2 separate regions of the Homo sapiens genome follow, and region 2 is linked to region 1. The links are contacts of gene promoters, found by promoter capture Hi-C in blood cells and fetal thymus (Javierre and others, 2016). All regions are on one chromosome and are shown on one strand. The core of a region is centred on a gene start or on the middle of the fragment in contact, and the rest is flanking DNA. Distances in the headings are between cores, read along the strand shown.

Region 1 (2,828 bases), core at 201-2,700:
TTCTGTATTCAGTAGGAGGCTGATCAAGGACTCAAAAGCATGCAAACTCTTGTCTCTTATCTACATTTTTTTTTTTTTTTTTTTTTTTGAGACGGAGTTTTGCTCTTGTTGCCCAGGCTGGAATGCAATGGTGCCATCTCGGCTCACCGCAACCTCCGCCTCTTGGGTTCAAGCGATTCGCCTGCCTCAGTCTTCAGAGTAGCTGAGATTACAGGCATGCGCCACCATGCTCTGTTAATTTTGTATTTTTAGTAGAGACGGGGTTTTTCCATGTTGGTGACGCTGGTCTGAAACTCCCAACGTTAGGTCATCTGCCCGCCTCGGCCTCCCAAAGTGCTGGGATTACTGGCGTAAACCACAGCGCCCGACCTGTCTCTTATCTATTTCTAACATGGAAGCCCCCGCTTCGAGCTGTCCCTCTTACCTGACCGAACCAATCATGTTTCCCTAAAACGTACAAAAGCAAGCTGTGCCCTGACCACCTTGGGCAAATGTATCATGGGTAAGTCTTGCAAAATAAACTTTTTAAATTGACTAAGACCTCTCTCAGATATTTGGGGTTCAGAAATAAATTCTTTTACCTATTATTTATAATTTTGGTTACAATTGAGAAAGTAAGAAAAAAGTGGTGTTTTTTTCTTTTCTAAGGGTTACTGCATCTTGAAAGTGTGATGAAGGTCTTAATTATTGTTCTTATAATTCCTGTCCACAGAAGCTCCTACTCTTACTGAGACCTCACGGAATTATCATTATCACAATAGAAATAAACATTTTGGGTTTGTGGAGTAACTTTTTTTTTTTTTTTTTTTTTTGCTCATCGTTTGTTGTTTAGATAATATCATGAACTGATAAATGCAGTTGCCACGTTGATTCCCTAGGGCCTGGCTTACCGACTGAGGTCATAAGATATTATGCCTTCTCTTTAGACTTGGTCAGTGGAGAGGAAATGGGCAAAGAACCAGCCTATGGAGGTGACAAGGCCTTAGGGCCAAAAGTCTTGAGGGTGAAGGTTTAGGGCCTGCGCAGCTTCCCTGCCATGCCCCGCAAGGTCTCGCATTCGCAAGGCTTGTGACAGTGGGAGCCTCATTACGGACTCTCCTAAAGTCCATGGTGTCCTCTTTTCGCATTTGCGCCCCGTGGGTGATGCCCGATGCCGCCCTTCCCATCGCTCTCTTCCCCTTCAAGCGTATCGCAACTGCAAAAACACCCAGCACAGACACTCCATTTTCTATCTTAATGCATTTAACTAGCACAACCTACAGGTTGTTCCATCCCAGAGACTACCCTTTTCTCCATAGACGTGACCATCAACCAACCAGCGGTCAGAATCAGTCAGCCTCTGTCATGTTCCTAGGTCCTTGGCGAACTGGCTGGGCGGGGTCCCAGCAGCCTAGGAGTACAGTGGAGCAATGCCTGACGTAAGTCAACAAAGATCACGTGAGACGAATCAGTCGCCTAGATTGGCTACAACTAAGTGGTTGGGAGCGGGGAGGTCGCGGCGGCTGCGTGGGGTTCGCCCGTGACACAATTACAACTTTGTGCTGGTGCTGGCAAAGTTTGTGATTTTAAGAAATTCTGCTGTGCTCTCCAGCACTGCGAGCTTCTGCCTTCCCTGTAGTTTCCCAGATGTGATCCAGGTAGCCGAGTTCCGCTGCCCGTGCTTCGGTAGCTTAAGTCTTTGCCTCAGCTTTTTTCCTTGCAGCCGCTGAGGAGGCGATAAAATTGGCGTCACAGTCTCAAGCAGCGATTGAAGGCGTCTTTTCAACTACTCGATTAAGGTTGGGTATCGTCGTGGGACTTGGAAATTTGTTGTTTCCATGAAATCCTGCGCAGTGTCGCTCACTACCGCCGCTGTTGCCTTCGGTGATGAGGCAAAGAAAATGGCGGAAGGAAAAGCGAGCCGCGAGAGTGAAGAGGAGTCTGTTAGCCTGACAGTCGAGGAAAGGGAGGCGCTTGGTGGCATGGACAGGTACGCACCTCCATCACCCGCCTGGTTGGCTGGCGATACTCTCCGGGAAGGCCTGGACGCAGCTTGCCCACGTTGATGACGGGGTCATCCTCAGCTTGGCACTCACCAATCTGTCGCTGTCGCTCTTGGACTCGGGAAGGAGCAAGTCACTGGCTTTCTCAGACCATTAACAAGCTCTGTGTCTCTCTCTCTACAGCCGTCTCTTCGGGTTCGTGAGGCTTCATGAAGATGGCGCCAGAACGAAGACCCTACTAGGCAAGGTAAAAGCAACCAGACGCAAAGTCTTTGGTCCGCACTTTGCTCTACCAAGGCCCCGCGTTCCTTACCGCCCAGCCAGTATTTATTTTGGCTCTGCTCCATGGCCAAGGGGTCGGAAAAGTGTTTCTTGCCTTTGCTGTCCCCGTACTCTGGAATACTTCGCCCCTTGCTCCAGACTCCCTTCTACTCTGAGGAAAAAAAAAATCGGACGCTTTGGGACCGGGCTAAACCGGGTCTACACCACATGCCTGTTACTTTAGGGCCTTTTGTTCCTGAATTTTAGCGTCACAAATAGTGAATGTGTACAGTTTTCAAAATTCATAACTTCCTGCTTCTTCCCCTCGCCTTTTGGTATTTGGCTCTTGGTGTCTAATTTTAAACATTTTTTTGCCTTTTTAAAAAAAATATCCCTGGTGTCCTAAGTGTAAGTAGCAAGTAAGTTACAGCGGTGAAGAGTTTGCAGTAGATATTTGACCTATAAACTGATGCGTGTATGTTTAGCCTGAAGTTTAGTGATTTGTTGACTTTTTTAGGATGCACAGTGCTGCAAATGTGATTTCATGAATGTGTGTGCTTTTTCCATTCAGGAACCTTGTTTCTT
Region 2 (2,828 bases), core at 219-2,718, 78 kb after region 1:
CAAGTTTGAGGACATGGGCTACTGTATTCTGAATTGTCTGAAATAACTACTTGATAACTTCATTTTTAGTGCCCATGTTTTGTATTTAGATGCATTGTAGCTGGGCTTGAGAAATGCTTCTTTAATTAGCATAGGTTACATTCAGCAGATGCATATATGATACATTGCTTTCCTAGAATGTGAAGGAAAAAATGCTGTAATAGTACACATATTTTTATTTGGTTTTAATAGAGAATGGTTATATTAAAATTGATTTTAAAATTAGTATCATATTTTATTGAGTTATTTCTAATATTTCTTTATATCCAGTACAAAAACATTTTGATCAAACTGCTATCGAGGCAACAGAAATTATTGCCTGGGGAAATCCAGAAAAGGCTTCGTAATGCAGGTTTGAATCCTAGCCTGAGATTCTTTTTAGAGGATGAGGTGATGTTTGCTGAGGCAGACAACAAACCAATGAGGGAGTAGAGGAAGTATTACAGGTGGTTTAGATTACCTTGGCTGACAGGGTATGGGACCCTTCCACTTGTAAGAAATGGGAAATATCTTAATTTGACTGGAGTTTGGCTTCATGAGAGCAAAATTTGGATGAGACTTAACTGTGAGCATCTTGGTAGAGATACAGAATTTCTTTTGGGATAATTGCTACAGCTAGAGATACAGAACTATATTTTGCAGCAATAGAGTATTCATGTCTTCACAAACATGGTTTAATTGATAATTTGTTTCTGGAAAGATCATTTTTAAGCTTAGTCATAATTTGAGGATTGGGTGACTCTAGTTTGAGGATTGGATACTGAAAATGAAGACGAGAGGTTATATCATTTTGTCTCATTTCCTTTACTGTCTTAATGTTTACTTTTTTGGTTCGTGGTATTTAATTTAGCTTTCTGTAATGTGAGGTGTTGTGCATAACTTTTATTTTTTATAAATATGTAATCAGTTTTAAAAGTCTTTTCTCATGCATGTTTTGAAATATGTATTTTCAAAATGTTTGCTGTTTAAAAATGTTTGGCATTTTATGCTGTTTGGGGGTGTGGAATAGTAAAGCAGTAATTTTACCGTAGCATCCAAGTTTTTTACTGCTCCTGGCAGATCTTGAATGCTGACAAATTAAATGTAGGCTGAGTAATTTGAATTATATACCTCTCTTTTTTCTTTAGGTTTTACTAAAATAGTACTGAAGTGCTGTAATCTTGCAAGTTATTTTATTTTTCCTTTTTTTTTGAGACGGAGTCTTGGTTTTGTCACCCTGGCTGGAGTGCAGTGGCGTTAGCTCACTGCAACCCTTGCCTCCTGGGTTCAAACAATTCTCTTGTCTCAGCCTCCCGAGTAGCTGGGACTACAGGCGCCTGCCACTATGCCCAGCTAATTTTTGTATTTTTAGTAGAGACGGGGCTTCACCATATTGGTCAGGCTGGTCCTGAACTCCTGACCTCAGGTGATCCACCCACCTTGGCCTCCCAAAGTGCTGGGATTACAGGAGTGAGCCACTGCACCTGGTCAAGTTATTTTCTTTTCAGGCCAGTTTCTATCCTGTAGTGACTTGTTTAGGAAAGGCCTGTGTTCTCATATATTTAATAATATGGTTTCAAGACAGATTTTACTTAAAAATATAGTATAGTCTGAAGTGTGGCTATTATGCTTCCCTTTTTGTGTTGAGGAGAGTAAGTATGCTGTACTTCCAATACTTCATATACTTAAAAAATAGTCTGTATTGTCTTGCTCTGTTAGCATACTCCGGTTTGCAAACCAAATATCTTAGTTCATTTCTGCCCCTGCAATAGAGTACTAGAGACTGGGTAATTTATAAAGAGATTTATTTGACATGAAGTTCTAGAGGCCAGGAAGTCCTAGATCTTGGGACCATGTCTGAAGAGAGCCTTCTTGCTGTGTCAGAACATGGTGGAAGGCGTCACATTACAAGCAAGATAGAAAGATACCAGGTGAAACTCACCCTTTTTCTAAGGAACCCACTCTTCTGATGACAGCATTAATCTGTTCATGAGAGAGAGCCCTTATGATCTAATCACCTCTTAAAGATCTCTACTCTTAATGTCACAGTGCCAATTAAATTTCAACATGAATTTTGAATGGAATATTCAAACTATAGCACTAAGGGAAAATAAAAGCAATGTTCACAGTGTTCAAATGTTGGGTTTTTCCTCAGGAAATAAGCTTTTTATTTCCCAGTTTTCTTTTATTATTTTTTATTTCAAAAGTATGTATGTATCATTATAAAAGGTAATACAAACAAAGATCCTATACCCATCAGTTTTTCTCAAAGGTTAACATCTAGGAAATTGACATTGATACAGTCCAGTTTTTTTTTTTTTAGCTTTTTATTTCCAGTGTCTGCAATTGTTTTGATCTTATATGAAAAGAAAAACTTTAGCCTTCATTTATTTTTAGGTTCGTTAGTTGGGTCCCCGCATATTAGACTGACAGAAAAACTAACAAGAGAAAAATAAACAAATTTATTAATGTGTGCATTACACATTATACACTGGAGAACTTTGCGATGAATGTCAACCTAAGTATTCAAAAAGGTCAGTATAATGTTTAAGAAGAGTTTATTCAACTGCAAAGCTAAGGTCCCTGCAAACACAGATTCCATAGAAAGGAAGTTAGTTTTCCAAAGTGTAGAAGTTTGGAGTCACTTATACAGACAAAGCTTTCTATATAAGGCTTATTGCAGAGTTAACAAAAATCTGATTTGTTGAGGTAGTCTTTTTGTTTCAGGAAAGGTATACTCAACATTTCACACTAAAGATGTAACTGTCATGGGGTCTTCGGCACCATCCAGTCTGAATTAGGCCAATAAA

Evidence for each region. Contacts are between HindIII fragments. The CHiCAGO score rates a contact against its expected background, and 5 or more counts as called.
Region 2: a contact is called between a fragment that was not itself captured here and the fragment with the promoter of UTY in region 1, in 2 of 17 cell types (monocytes and activated CD4 T cells). The highest score is 5.9, in monocytes.

The regions. Positions count from the first base shown.
Region 1 is chrY:13,478,655-13,481,482 of GRCh38, reverse strand. It overlaps UTY (ubiquitously transcribed tetratricopeptide repeat containing, Y-linked), which reads left to right and starts at 1,450. Exons shown (of 30, transcript NM_001258249.2): 1 at 1,450-1,969; 2 at 2,166-2,229. The coding sequence starts at 1,818. It overlaps MIR12120 (microRNA 12120), which reads right to left and starts at 2,306; the gene lies at 2,217-2,306. The HindIII fragment of the contact is 7,265 bases long and covers 1-2,828 here.
Region 2 is chrY:13,400,274-13,403,101 of GRCh38, reverse strand. The region is part of intron 6 of UTY (ubiquitously transcribed tetratricopeptide repeat containing, Y-linked); the gene reads left to right. Among named protein-coding and RNA genes, the nearest start is that of MIR12120, 77 kb to the left of the region's middle. The HindIII fragment of the contact is 1,430 bases long and covers 754-2,183 here.